Linked DNA regions of Homo sapiens: region 2 is linked to region 1. The links are contacts of gene promoters, found by promoter capture Hi-C in blood cells and fetal thymus (Javierre and others, 2016). All regions are on one chromosome and are shown on one strand. The core of a region is centred on a gene start or on the middle of the fragment in contact, and the rest is flanking DNA. Distances in the headings are between cores, read along the strand shown.

The links. The method cuts DNA at HindIII sites, captures the fragments that hold promoters and counts their contacts. A CHiCAGO score of 5 or more calls a contact.
Region 2: a fragment that was not itself captured here is called in contact with the fragment with the promoter of LTBP2 in region 1 in 3 of 17 cell types (M2 macrophages, M0 macrophages and naive B cells); the score reaches 5.9 in M2 macrophages.

Annotation. Positions count from the first base shown.
Region 1 is chr14:74,610,842-74,618,677 of GRCh38, forward strand. It overlaps LTBP2 (latent transforming growth factor beta binding protein 2), which reads right to left and starts at 1,396. Exons shown (of 36, transcript NM_000428.3): 1 at 610-1,396. The coding sequence starts at 1,103. It overlaps LOC101928352 (a long non-coding RNA gene), which reads left to right and starts at 2,344. Exons shown (of 2, transcript XR_944029.4): 1 at 2,344-2,454; 2 at 2,726-3,207. RefSeq lists enhancers at 1,452-2,079, 6,688-7,836 and a silencer at 1,707-2,026. The HindIII fragment of the contact is 11,176 bases long and covers 1-5,560 here.
Region 2 is chr14:74,349,894-74,357,729 of GRCh38, forward strand. It overlaps VRTN (vertebrae development associated), which reads left to right. Exons shown (of 2, transcript NM_018228.3): 2 at 6,890-7,836. The coding sequence starts at 6,891. Among named protein-coding and RNA genes, the nearest start is that of VRTN, 5.3 kb to the left of the region's middle. RefSeq lists an enhancer at 1-341. The HindIII fragment of the contact is 3,151 bases long and covers 1,293-4,443 here.

The DNA.
Region 1 (7,836 bases), core at 146-2,645:
AGCCTCATCAGGACACGCTTCCCGCCCAAAGTACCCAGAGCTCACGCCCACGCCCGCATCCAGCCCTCAGCGTGCGCAGGCCGACCCACGCCCCACGACACTTGTCCCGACGCACCAGCTTCGCTGCCGGCTCCCCTCCTGGAGACGCATCTACCTTCTCTCCATGGGGCCCCCGACACCTCCGCCAACCCGCGCTCTGAGCCAGCTCAACCTCCCCTGGGCGTCAAGAGCCTGGAGCGCCCACCCTCCTGCCCTCTCCCCGCTGCCTCTCAGATCCCGGCAGCGCTGCAAGAGTCTACAAGAGCTCGTTAGTTGCAGGCAGGAGGAACGCGGGCGAGTGGAGAGGCGCCTTGCGAAAGGATTTAACGTCGGGGCTCCGGGAGAGTTGGTAAGAAAGGATGAGGATGATGATCTATCTGCCTTCAACTCTTCGAAAGCGGATCAAATCTTCCAATCCCGATTTTGGAACCTCGGGGCTGTTTCCCGAAGTACTAAAGACAGAGGGACGAGGGTATGAGAGCGGCGCCCTCTCCTCTCGCCTGCACGCCCCTCCACAAATGAGCCCTGGCTCCCCTCTGTACCCTCCAAACTTCCCTCTCCCATGCTCACCCCGTGAGCCGCCCTCGCGGCGGGGTTGGGGGCGCAGCCCCAGACCGCTGTGGGGTCCCCAGGCGTGGGAGAGCCGGCGCGGCCCGGGTCCGGGGTGCTGGTTGCTGCTGGCCCAGGGGAGTGCTTCTCCGGGTCTGCGCAGGTGGCTGGACACGCCGCGACTGCTGCGCGCGGGACGGCCTCCTGGCCTCCGCCTCGGTGGGCCTCCTGGGGCTCCCCCAGCCCGGCTGGGCCCGCTCCACGGGCTGCAAGCCCGCGACAGGCGCGTCCTGCTCCCGGAACAGACTGTACACCTTGGCTGCAGCCGCTGCCGGGTAGCTGCCCCCAGGGCGCCGCAGTCGATTCGCGTCTCCACCAGCCGGCTCGTATCTCCCTACGGGGTCCCTTTGGGCATGACCCGCGCCCACGAAGAGAGCCAGGGTGAGCGGCAGGAAGCCTCTCCAGGGGTTCCGCAGGGCGCGCCCCGGGCTGCGGGCTTTGGTCCGCGGCCTCATGGCGCGGGGCGGCTGGAGAGTGGTGCGCGCGGGCACCGCGAAGAGCTTTGTGGTCGGCACGCTGGACGCCCGCGGGCTGTTCTCCCGGCCCCGCCCGGCGGCCAGCTTCTCTGAGTCTAGGGGGCCCTGAAGCGGCCGACTGGGGGCCCGGCTCTCGGCGGAACGAGGGCTGCGCGCCCCGAGCCTCGAGTCCGCGCTCCTACTCCAGCTGGGCTCGCACGGCTGCTGCACCTTCGCGCCTCCTCCCTGTGCCTGCAGCCGTCTGAAGGGGACCCGGACGGTTTTATTTTTGGAAACCTCCCCCGGCTTTTTCGTCTCTTTTATCCACACCAGGCCCCCTCCTCGGAGGGACAGCTCAGCCCCCTCATTACCGGAGAGGGAGCGAGGAATTCCAGCAACACCCACTTTGGCACCGGGAAGCCAGCGGGCGGCGAGCGGGCGGCGAGGGGGATTAACCCGTGCGGAGCAGGGGGCGGCGCGGGGCTGACCCAGGCGCTGGTCGGGCAGATGGCGCCTGCCACGACCGGGACACTGGGCCGCCTTTCTCCTGCTCTGGGCAAGTTCGAACTGCAGACCTGCCCCGAATCGTTCTCCCGCCCCTCGCCTCAGGGACCGTCTTTGGATCGGGGGACCCAGGCTGCAGCCTTGCAGGTCTGAAGGAAGCCGGGAGGGGCGCCGAGGCCCGCGTAGGGGAACAGGGCCGCCGCCCCCTCCGCTTGCGCCCTGGCCGCTGGGGGCGCCCTCCGCAGGGCCGGCCGGAGCGGGGGTGGCGCGGGGCGGGGCGCGGCGCGCGGAGCGCAGGGAGGTCCCGGGCGCGCCCCCTGGCGGAGCTGGCGGCCCTGGCGCTCCGTGGCTGCAATGCCCTGGCGCCGCCGCCTTCGCTCTGGATCTCAATCCCCTTCCACTGGCGTGAGGGTCACGCCTGAGCCTGGCGCGGTGATGGCTGCCGGTAGAAGAGGGGTCCTCTTTTTCTTTTTCTTTTTCTTTTCTTTCTTTCTTTCTTTCTTTTTTTTGAGACGGAGTTTCGCTCTTGTTGCCCAGGCTGGAGTGCAATGGTGCGATCTCAGCTCCCCGCAACCTCCGCCTCCCGGGTTCAAGCGATTCCCCTGCCTCAGCCTCCCTAGTAGCTGGGATTACAGGCATGCGCCACCAAGTCTGACTAATTTTGTATATTATTTTATTTTTTAGTACAGACGGGGTTTCTCCATGTTGGTCAGGCTGGTCTCGAACTCCCAACCTCAGGTGATCCGCCCGCCTCGGCCTCCCAAAGTGCTGGGATTAAAGGCGTGAGCCACCACGCCCGGCCAAGGGGTCCTCTTTTTCACCGAGGCAAAGACACGGAGCCTCTTGAGTAAGTCACTCAAGGAGATAGCGCATGTGAAAGAGGGGAGTGGAATCTAGGCCTCCCGCCTCTGGCTGAATCCATTCCCGGGATCCCACCCAGCCCTTCACTCTCTCGGGAATTTCCCAGAGGGGGATTCGGTGACCCCGATTGACCCAGTGTGTGCATTCACATCTTGTGTTAGCAGGGAGGCGGGCAGGGGTGTGGGAATGCTGACTGCCGCTGTCTGCGTGTCCCCAGTAATCAGCACACCATTCTCACCCATGCTCCCTCCCTACAGCCTAAAGGCTTGGATCAACAGGGCTGCCCCTGGCACATTTGTACAGCCTATTTCCCAGAGAGGCAGAGTGAAGGAGCTGGCATGTGGGCACCAGTTCACAACCTCCCACACCACACAAAAGACAAGCCCAGGTAATATCTACTGTTGAAATAAAGCCTCGACCCCTGGCCTTGGCCTACAAACCCTAGCTGGCTGCCCCCGCTCTGATTTCATCTGGCCTCTTGCTCTCCCTTACCCACCACACTGTGCTGCCTTGGCCCTCTCTCTGCTCCTTGAACAAGCCAAGTGAATGCCCCCTTCCCTCTACTGGAAGGTTCCTCTCCAGGATGTTAGAGGGTAGTTCCTCATCACTGCTCCTCTCAGATTAAATATCAGCTCCTGGAGTAGCCATCCCTGACCTCCAATCTAGAGCAGCCCTCCCTCACCCCAGTCATGACTCTAACACACCACCCTGTTTCATCTTCATAAAACAGTTGACATCATCTTGTTATTGATTTGTTTGCTCGTGTAACTGAATTTTTTAATGGGCTGAACCTAAAGAGGGACTATCCAGAAACTGCTCCACTACTACCTTCAACCATATTATGGTAAATTTCCCTTTCCCACCCTTAATGACATCTCAGGCAGAGTCCTTGGCTTGAGAGGTCATCCCTACCAGACACGAGAACTATTCTATTAATATAATTAAGACCCATTTTCAGACACAAAAAGTCTGCTCCTGTCCAGATCAAAATCTCATCCAAGTTAATCAATATCACATCCCATTTAATAGTCCTCCTCTCCCCTGTCCCTTTGCTAGAGATCCTGCAGTGGTGAGAGTGGGGTGTGGTCTGTTTTCCTGACCTCCCTTTTCTGCTGTGGCTCCTCTTTGTCAAGGCTGGGAGAGAGGTGTTAGAGGAAAAGTAGCAAAGTCTTATGTGACAGGTACCCTTGGTTGGCAGGTGCCAAGCGCTGGCTTTTTCATGGGCACATATGTGGGTTTTTGGGAGGTTCTCTACAGGACCTCCACCCTGAGTTGCCATAGCAAATTACTCTCTGGCCAACCTCTCGGAGACCCCTGCATCCTCTGTCTCTCATAGGACTGTCCCACCTATGCCAGGCAAAACAATGGTGGGTTGGCCGCTCCTCACCCTGCCCACTTCTCACCTTGCCACACAGGCCACTCCAGCGAGGCTCCACGATCAGAATTCTCCAGACAGGAAGTGCACACAAGTCTCTTCATTTATGTACGTCCTCAATTCCTAAAGACATATGTTGGGTTCTCCCATGAACTGTCTTGCTGTAGTTTAATGCACCGAGGTGCCTGTAACATCCAGCAACATAGTCAGCATCAGTGGGGGGACAGTTATAGGGACAGAGCCTCCTCTTCTTGCAGATGACTGGTTCTCTCTGGGAGCTCCCTTCATTTGGTTTGAGTTGGGGAGTTCCCTCAGGGGAAATCTCAGCCCTGCCCACAAATGCAGCAGTGTTATGCTTCAGTGACTTTCTTCAATCCCTTTCATTTGTAGACTGGAATTGAGGGATGTAGTTTGATTGCTGTTGAACCTGTTCTGCCTTTAGTAAGGTGTCTAGTACTTCTCTTCAGAATGCAAGAATATTTAGCCCTCATTGTTCTATCTTTGTGGCTTCAGCAGATATTCCAAGAGCAGAGGAAAAGTCCTATTCAACAACCTATAAAATCATTTCTTGTCTGACTTCCCAAACCACAATGACAGCTCTAAAGCAACAGATATCTTGTCTGCGTTGCTCACCACTGTTTCTGCAGAACCTAGAACAGCCAAGAAGTATGTGTGAAATGGATAGCTAACTGAATGAAGGACACAGTAATCCCATCAAGTGGGGAGGGCTGGTATCATTAGACCCATTTTAAGAGAGAGGAACTGAGTTCTGGGTGGCAGCTCCTGATCCAGGTTCATGTGCTTGCTGCCTTTGGGGCTGGCTCTAAAGATCTCCTTGAACCCTACCCCTTGCATTTGACCATGAATGCCCCTTAGTTCCCAGAATGCTGCGTTCTGTTCCTGGGATGCTGCTCCTTCACAGCTGTGGAAGCCCCAGGTCCACACTTACCTCTCCTTGCCCAGATATCCACCCACCTCTGTAGTTCTGGGCTCCCTTCCTCTCCCCGGAACCTACCCACTTCCTTCAGAAGCTCCCCTCTAGATCCCTCAAGACCCACCTCAGATCCCCGTGGGCCTCCAAAAGCCAGAAACCTTGGCATCATCTTCGTCCCTGAGCTATTTTTTCCTCCTGTGTGTCCAAGTCATTATTACTGCTCCGTCTCCTCCGTCTGCATTTCTGGAAGTCTGCCGCCCATTCATCCCTCACCCTTCGCCTCCGCCAAAACCCTCACGCAGACCAACTTTCCCTCACCATCGGGCGCCCCTTCCACTCCTCAGTGAGTACAAGTGGTCCTTGGACGTTCCCACCCTGTTCGCCTGGGGACCATAACCCAGTTCATCTACTCCAAAGACTGGCATCTTCTACCCCATCCCGGCGCCACACTCTGTCCTGCCACCTACTTACTGCCCATATCTCCCTTACCCTCTAACTGCTGGGACTGATTGCAGCTCTTCAGAATCTCCAATCCCACAAACACTTGAGTTTTGCTTTTTTTTTTTAACCTGCCAAAATCGATAGAGCCTACTTTAGTCCAAACGCCATACTAAGCATGTTACATCAATTGGCTGATTTAACCAACCAAAGGAGGCATTATGATTTCCACGCATACAAAGGAGGAAACTGAGGTTGGCAATGGCTACTGGCTTGCCCAAGATGGCACAGCTGATAAATAGCAGAGGCAGGATTCAAACCTGGATCATTTTCCACCTGAGCCCAAGCTTTTAAGGTTACACCGCCTTGCCTCCACCCCGGGCTTGTAAGCCTGGAGCCCTCTTCACAATTGAATCATGACCTTTCCAACCACCCCACCACTATCACCACCAAAGGAGCTCTAGGGCATATCCCCAAATGCCCTCTTCCCTGCCTGCCAGCCCACTGTTCATGTACCTGGAGCTCATGTACCTGGAGATGTGGAGTTATCAGAACTTTCTGCCACCCTTAATCCTCTTGGCCCAGTGAAAGAAGGGAAGCTGTTTCAGCATGGCCGCTGACTCACCGTGTGTCACTTCCCCACCCCCTGATTAAAGCCTTCTCCCTCATTAGATCGCTGCTAAGCCTACTCACCCATCTCTTGGGTCTGGAGAGGAAAATCATCTCTGGAAAACCCGGCAGAGAGAGTCTAAAGGGTTGATAAAGAGATTCCAGCAGGGAAAGGTTTGCCCAGACACATGCCCCATGCAAGGGACAGCAGTCTCCTGGACTCCCAGGGCAAACTCACTGCTTTTCCATGTCTCACTGGAATAATGTTGGCAGCCAGAGGTCTACCAGAACCTGAGCTAATTTGGTAAATAAGGACCAAAAACAAGGGCCACATTTCGGCCCCCTTTGCTGAGACCCAGACTCCTGAAAGAATTCCAGGGATTTTTCTTGCTTGGAAGTAACTGGACCTCCAGCCCTGAATTCCTCTCCCCAGGAGAGCTTGTTCCCCTGCTCAGAACAAATAACACATTTCCTGGTTAATCAGAGGGCAGAATCGCTGAAGGAAAGTTTGACTGGGCCCCCAGCCTTCCAGACGGGAGCCGCTCATGGGCTTGGATGTTCTGCTCCAGACACTGGGCAGCTGGGACCCCAGCACTGCGCAGCCTCAGCCTCCAGTTTGGAAGGTGCAGGCCGTACAGAGAGGTGCCGACTCCCTCCTGTGTGAGGTTGTTAAGGCCCGCAAAGGCTGCCAGAACCATTCCACCTTAGGTGCCATGACCTGGCGTCCCCTCAAGAATTCACAACCACCCTGCCCTGGTCTGCCGGTGCCTGTCTCCTCCAAGTGGGTATGACATGCTGGCTGGTGGTGATAGCCATGGTATGGATGTTCCTGCAAAGGTAAGGTGAGCTGGCCTGTATTTCAGAGTGTGCTGGAAAGGGCCCTCCCACAAACATGTGGTGAACATTTACGTCTTCTGTGAGCGGAGCACAGTTCTGAGCTCATTTCCGTCTTCTGTGAATGCAGCACAGTTCTGAGCTTCATTTGGCTTCTACTTTCTTATCTGAAAGTTGAGATAATGATGTTCTTTTTGCCATTTTTCTCTTCAGGACAAACTAGCTAGCCAGCCCTGTTTACCCTGTCATGGGGCTAGGGGCAGGTGTCAATTACTACTCCTCCATTTACCAACTGATATTTCATTTATTGTTTGTTTGTTTGTTTGAGACAGGGTCTCACTCTGTCACCCAGGCTGGAGTGCAGTGGCACAATCTCGGCTCACTGCAGCATCCACCTCCTGGGTTCAAGCAATCCTCCAGCTTCAGCCCCCCAAGTAGCTGGGACTGTAGGTGCACGCCACCAAGCCTGGCTAATTTGTATTTTTTGTAGAGACGGGGTTTTGCCATTTTGCCCAGGCTGGTCTTGAACCCCTGGACTCAAGTGATCCTCCCGTCTCGGCCTCCTAAAGTGTTGGGATTATAGGTGTGAGCCACCACATCCAGCCTTGGTATTTCTTGAGCACTCAGAAGGTACCAGGCACTGTGCCAAGTCATCTTATAGTCACTTCCTTGTTTAATGAGAAGCGCTATTGATGAAGGAAGTGCTATTATTTCCCCACATAGCAGATGAGGAAATGAAGGCTCGGGGAAGTAAATGACTCATCCACAGTCACAAGCCAGTAGGTGGCTGCGCTGGGATTCACTCCTGGTTTGTCTGGTCCCAGATGCTAAACCAATGCCAGCTTCCAGGGGAAGGGAGACCACCGACAGCTGCATTTTTCTCAGAGCTGGAAGCATGCACAGCTGTTTGTGGTGTGGTGGGGGTGCTAATGGCTGCATGGGACTGTGGTCACAGGTCAGCCCCCACCAAGCATCCCCCATTCTCCTCAGGCCTGTTTACCAGCTAGGGGTCCGCTCTGAGTCAGGGCGGTGAATCTGATTCGCACCCACAGAGAAGAAGGAAGGAAGTCACAGCCACACTCACCCCACCTCCATCAAGTAGTCTGCAGTTGCTGAATAGAGCTCATCTCAACTCGTAGCTTTTCTCTTTGGGAAAGAGAAATGACATACATACAATG
Region 2 (7,836 bases), core at 1,618-4,117, 260 kb before region 1:
TCTCAGGCAAGAGGAGGGGATGAGCCTGTGCAATCCCGAGTGTGCCTTGCCTCCTTGGTTTCATACCTTTTCAGATCACTTCCAAGAGTTGTGGGGGCCAGGGCAGGCCAGCTGGGCAAAGTCCATAGATTAGCTATCACTTTTTGCACCTCCTTCCCTGAATGCACCTGGCAACCGGCTTGTCTGCTTTGCATTGCACTTCTAGGAAGAGAGCCATTGCCAAAAAGACTGTTGCACCTGAACCCCATCATCAATTGTCTACTTAAGAGTGATAGGCTTCCCCGTGCAGCCCCTACCCTTTCCACACGGCCCTATTCTCTGGTGGGCGAATCCATCTGTGGGTTGGGAGTGAGTGTGGAGCTGCTTTTCCTTAAGCTTTTGAGGAAGCCAGAAGTGGGGTATCACATACTTGTACCTCCTACCTCTTTGGGGAAGAGAAAGGAATGAAATTGGGTGGAGCCGGGTGGAACTGGGCCTGGGAAGAGTAGATAGGGTGGGACGAGGAGGGTGGGGACAGGTGGGGACTGTGCAAGAGGAAGTGTGGCATATCTGGACGTTGTGTTGGAAGGTATCTGGACACTGCTGCATGAATTCAGGCAAGTCGACTCTACCTTTGTGGACCTCAATTTCCTTATCTGTAAAATGGCCAGGTTTGTCTTAAAGTCCTAAAAATCCATAAGTTTCTGGATCCATTGGATAATGAGAATTTTGGATGATGGAATTATAGTGCTTAGAAAGGGAGCTTGAGAGTCAGGCTGCTTAGACTTTGTAGCTTTTAAAAGCTGTGTGGTCTTGCGAAAGCTACTTAATGTAAACCCGGAACCTCCAGGTGTGAACTCGGACTAGGGATCCTGTAGATAGCGTAGGTGTGATGGAATTGTAGTTCACATGGAAGGAAGGTGAGAACCACATATAAACAAAATTACCACTGAAAAGCCTGAACTCCAAATGCTTGAGGGTGAAAAGCTGGCAGATACTTGTTAACACTTCAGGGAACATCATGCTCTCCTCAGGAAATCGGCTAATTGCGTGTAAGGGTATAAAAATATCCACACAGCTTCAGTATATTGTTCCCTCTTGTTTTTCCTGAGATTTTGGTTGAATTACCTAGTTAAATGCACATAGGAAGCAGTCAGTAAATGGTAGCTATTTTCCTAATTTTGTTTACAAAGTATCTAGCAGAGCACTCATTTGTATGCAGTTGTAAAATAGCATTCAACAAGTGACATAATGCAAGAAAAACAAAAACCCAACGTCTTGCTTGTTGACATCATTGTCTGCCAAAATGAAAAAGCTTGTCTGTGTGTACACAGTTTGTTCTTCAGGATTCCTTTTTTAAAAATTGTATAATGTTAAGTGCTGTCTTTACTAAGGACTGATATGGATTATCTCCTGAATCCAAAGAAAAGTAATAGTTTTCTTTTTAAAGTAAATATAAAAGGCATAAAAGTTGACAGATTAATAAAAGCCAACTTCTAGAGTTAAATGATATGGTACAAATAGAAATATGGTGAGAGGTTATACCAGATTTGTTATAATATACACATTTTAAAGAAATCCACAGCCTAGAAATTTTGTCCAAAGGTGATTCTGATTACCAGGTTTTTTTTTTTTTTTTTTTTTTTTTAAGACAGTCTCACTCTGACACCCGGGCTGGAGTGCAGTGGCATAATCTCAGTCCCCTGAGGCTCAGGTTATCCACCTCAGCCTCCTGAGTAGCTGGGACTACAGGCACATGCTACTATGCAGGCTAATTTTTTTTTTTCCGTAGAGATGGGGTTATGTTATGTTGTCCAGGCTGGTCTCTAACTCCTAGGGCTCAAGCTATCTGCCCACTTCAGCCTCCCAAAGTTCTGGGATTACAGGCATGAGCCACTGCACTTGGGCTGATTACCAATTTTTAAACGACTTTCCTTCTTTGGTTATCAAGTAAAATTCTGGTGGCTGTTCCCTCAGTACTTTTTTTTTTGAGACGGAGTCTCGCTCTGTTTCCAGGCTAGAGTACAGTGGTGCGATCTTGGCTCACTGCAACCTCCGTCTCTTGGGTTCAAGTGATTCTCCTGCCTCAGCCTCCCGAGTAGCTGGGACTACAGGCGCGGGCCACCATGCCCAGCTAATTATTTTTTTTTTGTATTTTTAGTAGACACAGGGTTTCACCATGTTGTCCAGGATGGTCTTGATCTCTTGACCTTGTGATCCGCCTGCCTCGTCCTCCCAAAGTGCTGGGATTACAGGCCTGAGCCACCACCATGCCCGGCCTCAGTACTTTTAATTTTTTTTATTTATGTTTTATTTTTTATTTTTGAGATGGAGTCTCACTCTGTCACCCAGGCTGGAGTGCGGTGGGCGATCTCGGCTCACTGCAACCTCTGCTGCCCAGGTTCAACCAATTCTTCTGCCTCGGCCTCCCGAGTAGCTGGGATAACAGGCACCTGCCACTGCACCTGGCTAATTTTTGCATTTTTAGTAGAGATGGGGTTTCACCATCTTGGCCAGGCTGGTCATGAACTCCTGATCTCGTGATCCACCTGCCTCAGCCTCCCAAAGTGCTGGGATTACAGGTGTGAGCCACTGCGCCCCAGCCCTACTTTTAATTTTTTAAAACATTTTTACTAAATTACAATTTGCATTCATCCACTCCTTTCAAATGTAGCTTTTTTGTTTTGTTTTGCTTTTTGGGGACAGTCTCCTCTGTTGCTCAGGCTGAAGTCCGGTGGCGTGATCATAGCTCACTGTAACCTCGAACTATGCTCAAGTAATCTTCCTGCCTCAGCCTCCCAAAGTGCTGGGATTATAGGCGTGTGCCACCACGCCTGGCCTTAAGCGTACAGTTTGATCTGAAAAATGTATATACCCAAACACCATTTTTAAACCTAAGGGTCATCTAAAGCAATTTATTGAACTCTGAGAACAAGTTTAATTTGAGAACATGATCTGAGAAACCAGAAAGGATAATGGTCCCTCCCCTAATGTAAAAAGTGTCTATGAAGGAATACCACTCTGCTTTGCAACTGAACAATAAAAACATACCAATAATTGAGATGATTAGTTTTGTGTTAAAAGGTGGTTAATGGTTTGAACAGGAGATGAATCACAGACCCTAAAGAGCATCTGGGGCCAGGCATGGTGGCTCACGCCTGTAATCCCAGCACTTTGGGAGGCCAAGGTGGGTGGATCACCTGAGGTCAGGAGTTTGAGACCATGAGACCACCCTGTCGGACATGGTGAAACCCCATCTCTACAACATAAGCTGGGCGTGGTGGCATGTGCCTACAGTCCTAGTTACTCTGGAGGTTGAGGCAGGAGAATCGCTTGAACCCTGGGGGCGGAGGTTGTAGTGAGCAAAGAATGAGCCACTGTACCCCAGCCTGGGTGATAGAGTGAGATTCTGTCTCAAAAAAAAAGAAAAAAAGTGTTTGGTTTCAACTAACTTGTATTGTGACCTTGGGCAAATTAGGTTAACTTCAGTTGCCTCAGTTTCCTCACCTGTAAATTGGGGATAATGGTAGTACTTAAAGTATTAGTGTCAGGATTAGGACAGTGCATGGCAAATAGTAAATGCTCAGTAAATCATAGTTATTAGATCTTTGTGCAGTGAATAGATTGTTGCTACCCCTTTGAAAGGCTGTTTCTGGGGCAGCACTTCTCAAACTTTTTGGTTTCAGGACTCCTGTACGGTCTGCAGACCCTGAAAACCTTTTGTTTATATAGGTTATATCTACCAGTGTATATTGTACACAAAATTAAAAATAAGAAATAAATTTTAAAAAGCCTGTTATACAGTAACAAATAATCATTTTTATGAGAAGTGACATTTCCAGAGCAAAAAAACTACTTTTTTTTTTTTGAGATGGAGTCTCACTCTGTCGTCCAGGCTGGACTGCAGTGGCGTGATCTTGGCTCACTGTAAGCTCCGCCTCCCGGGTTCACGCCATTCTCCTGCCTCAGCCTCCCGAGTAGCTGGGACTAGAGGCGCCCGCCAGCGTGCCCGGCTAATTTTTTGTATTTTTAGTGGAGACGGGCTTTCACCATGCTAGCCAGGATGGATTTTTGTATTTTTAGTAGAGACAGAGTTTCACCATGTTAGCCAGGCTGGTCTTGAACTCCCGACCTCAAGTGATCTGCCTGCCTCGGCCTATCTTCTTTTAAACCAGATACTATGGAGACTTGGAAAAATGTTAAATAATGTCCGAGAGCACATTATTCTACATTTTTACATTTTACATTTTTCTGTATCTCCATAGTATTTGGTTTAAAAGAAGATGAGTACTTTCTCATATCTTTCTATATTCAATCTGTTTTGATATATTGTTTTGGTGGAAGCATCTGAAGAAAATCTAACTTCATCAGATATATAGATGGAAAAAGGAGGAGTATTTTGATCACTTTTTCAGTGGATTTTTTTGATATTATACCAAAACTTTACAAGTAGTAGCTTCTCAAAGCTTAGTTATAATGTGGAATTTGAAACCATATCCATGAACTTTTTGTACCCTGTTATATTAAAATCCATGGGTCTTTTTTTTTTTTGAGATGGAGTCTCGCTCTGTCCCCAGGGTGGAGTGCAGTGATGCAATCTTGGCTCACTGCAGCCTCTGCCTCCCGGGTTCAAGCAATTCTCCTGCCTCAGCCTCCTGAGTAGCTGGGACCACAGGCATGTGCTGCCACTCCTGGCTAATTTTTGTATTTTTAGTAGAGACGGGGTTTCACCACATTGGCCAGGATGGTCTCGATCTCCTGAGCTCGTGGTCCGCCCGTGTCGGCCTCCCAAAGTGCTGGGATTACAGGTGTGAGCCACCACACCCAGCCCCATGGGTTTCTTTTATACTTTGAATGATTCTTCTACAAGTGCATGACTTTGTAACAGCACCCATTGGCTATTTGGAAAATGTTCACTGAGTGATGTAGATCTTTAGTGGAAACAATTGACAATTCATTATACAGCATAAAAAATTATATTTGTTAGGGCTGGGCGTGACGGCTCACACCTGTAATCCCAGCACTTTGGGAACCTGAGGCGGGCAGATCATTTGAGGTCAGGAGTTTGAGACCAGCCTGGCCAACATGGTGAAACCCCGTCTCTACTAAAATTACAAAAATTAGCTGGGCATGGTGGCATGCGCCTGTAATCCCAGCTACTCGGGTGGCTGAGGCAGGCAAATCTCTTGAACCCGGGAGGTAGAGGTTGCAGCCAGTTGAGATTGCGCCCCTGCACTCCAGCCTGGGTGACAGAACGAGACTCAGTCTCAAAAAAAAAAAAAAAAAAAATTGTCACCACTGATCTCATCAGAAAAATTGAGATTTTCAGATGGAAGCTGATAAGTTTTTATGGGCAGCAAATAGTTGTTTCCCTTGAAATTACAGTCTCACTTCATTCATTTTTGAGAAAATATCTGCCAAATATATCCAAATCTGAATGACCAGTGTCTATTAGACTTTCTTTCAAGTAAAAATTGTATATCATGCTAAAGGGAGCTAATTTATCAGAAAAGCAGAACAATCATCCAATGGAGACATTCATCATACCTCGGGTTGCAGCAAGCGTGTTATAAGTATGCCCCATTTGATTACACCCAGTATTGAAAACGACATGTACTTAAGGATAACGGTTTTCTTTCTTTTCTTTAAAAAAAAAATAGCATCATTTATTTATTTATTTGAGACAGAGTCTCGGTCTGTCACCCATGCTTGAGCACAGTGGCATGATCTCTACTCAGTGCGGCCTCCACCTCCCAAGTTCAAGTGATTCTCGTGCCTCAGCCTCCTGAGTAGCTGAGATTACAGGTGCATTCCACCATGCCTGGCTAACTTTTTTTTTTGTATTTTTAGTAGCAATGGGGTTTCACTATGTTGGCCAGGCTGGCCTCAAACTCCTGACCTTAAGTGATCTGCCTGCCTCAGCCTCCCAAAGTGCATGAGCCACTGCACCTGGCCTCTCTCTTTTTTTTTTTTTCTGAGACAGAGTCTCATTCCTGTCACCCTGGCTGGAGTGCAGTGGTGCGAGCATTGCTCACTGCAGCCTCGGATTCCCAGGCTCAGATGATCCTCCTGCCTCAGCCTCCCAAGTAGCCGGGACTATAGGCACATGCCACTGTGCCCAGCTAATTTTTGTATTTTTTGTAGAGATGGGGTTTTGCCATGTTGCTCAGGCTGGTCTTGAACTCCTGGACTCAAGCAGTCCACCCACCTCAGCCTCCCAAAGTGCTAAGATTACAGGCATGAGCCACCACGCCCAGCCAACATCTCTTTATTGTCTCATTTATGCCCAGAACAACTCAAGCATATTTTATTAATTTTTTTTTCCCTTTTGGAGACAGTCTCACTTTGTTGCCCAGGCTGGAGTGCAGTGGCTCTAACTCAGCTCACTGCAACCTCTGCCTCCTGGGTTTAAGTGATTCTTCTGCCCTAGCCTCCAGAGTAGCTGGGATTACAGGCTCTTGCCACTATGCCTGGCAAATTTTTGTATTTTTAGTAGAGATGGGGTTTCACCATGTTGGCCAGGCTGGTCTCGAACTCCTGCCCTCAAGTGATTCATCTGCCTTGGCCTCCCAAAGTGCTAGGATTACAGGTGTAAGCCACCGTGCCTGGCCTATAAAGCAGATTTTAACACACCATTCCCATTTTATAGAAAATGAACAGAAGCATAGAGAGGTTAAGTGATCCAAGGTGACCAAGCTTATGTCAGAGCCAGGATTCAAAGCCAGGTTCTAGAGACCACACTTTTCCTCAGTACCATTCAGTGATGAACCAATCCCGTCTGTTGTGGGAGGACGGGAGCAGATAGACATTACCTTTTGGGAGAAAGTGCAGGAGTGGACAGGGCACCTTTGCTAGTCATCATCTGGGCACTTCGACCTGACTACTGCCCCTTTATCTTTTGCCCTGGCAGGATGACTTCTCGGAACCAGCTGGTGCAGAAGGTGCTGCAGGAGCTGCAGGAAGCAGTGGAGTGCGAAGGCCTGGAGGGTCTCATAGGTGCTTCCTTGGAGGCCAAGCAGGTCCTGTCTTCCTTCACTCTCCCCACCTGCCGGGAGGGAGGCCCTGGCCTCCAGGTGCTGGAAGTGGACTCGGTGGCCCTGAGCCTGTATCCAGAAGATGCTCCACGGAACATGCTGCCGCTGGTGTGCAAGGGGGAGGGCAGCCTGCTGTTCGAGGCGGCCAGCATGCTGCTGTGGGGTGACGCAGGCCTCAGCCTGGAGCTGCGGGCCCGCACCGTGGTAGAGATGCTGCTGCACAGACACTACTACCTCCAGGGCATGATCGACTCCAAAGTGATGCTGCAGGCCGTGCGCTACTCCCTATGCTCTGAGGAGTCCCCTGAGATGACCAGCTTGCCCCCCGCCACGCTGGAGGCCATCTTCGATGCCGACGTCAAGGCCTCCTGTTTCCCCAGCAGCTTCTCCAACGTGTGGCACTTGTATGCTCTCGCCTCTGTCCTCCAGCGGAACATCTACTCCATCTACCCCATGCGCAACCTCAAGATCCGGCCCTACTTCAACCGTGTCATCCGGCCCCGCCGCTGCGACCACGTGCCCTCCACGCTGCACATCATGTGGGCTGGCCAGCCCCTCACCAGCCACTTCTTCCGCCACCAGTACTTTGCCCCTGTGGTGGGGCTGGAAGAGGTGGAGGCTGAAGGTGCCCCTGGCGTGGCCCCAGCTCTTCCAGCCCTGGCCCCACTCTCATCGCCGGCCAAGACCCTGGAGCTGCTCAACCGTGAACCTGGCCTCAGCTACTCTCACCTCTGTGAGCGCTACAGCGTCACCAAAAGCACCTTCTACCGCTGGCGGCGGCAGTCCCAGGAGCACCGGCAGAAGGTTGCTGCCCGCTTCTCCG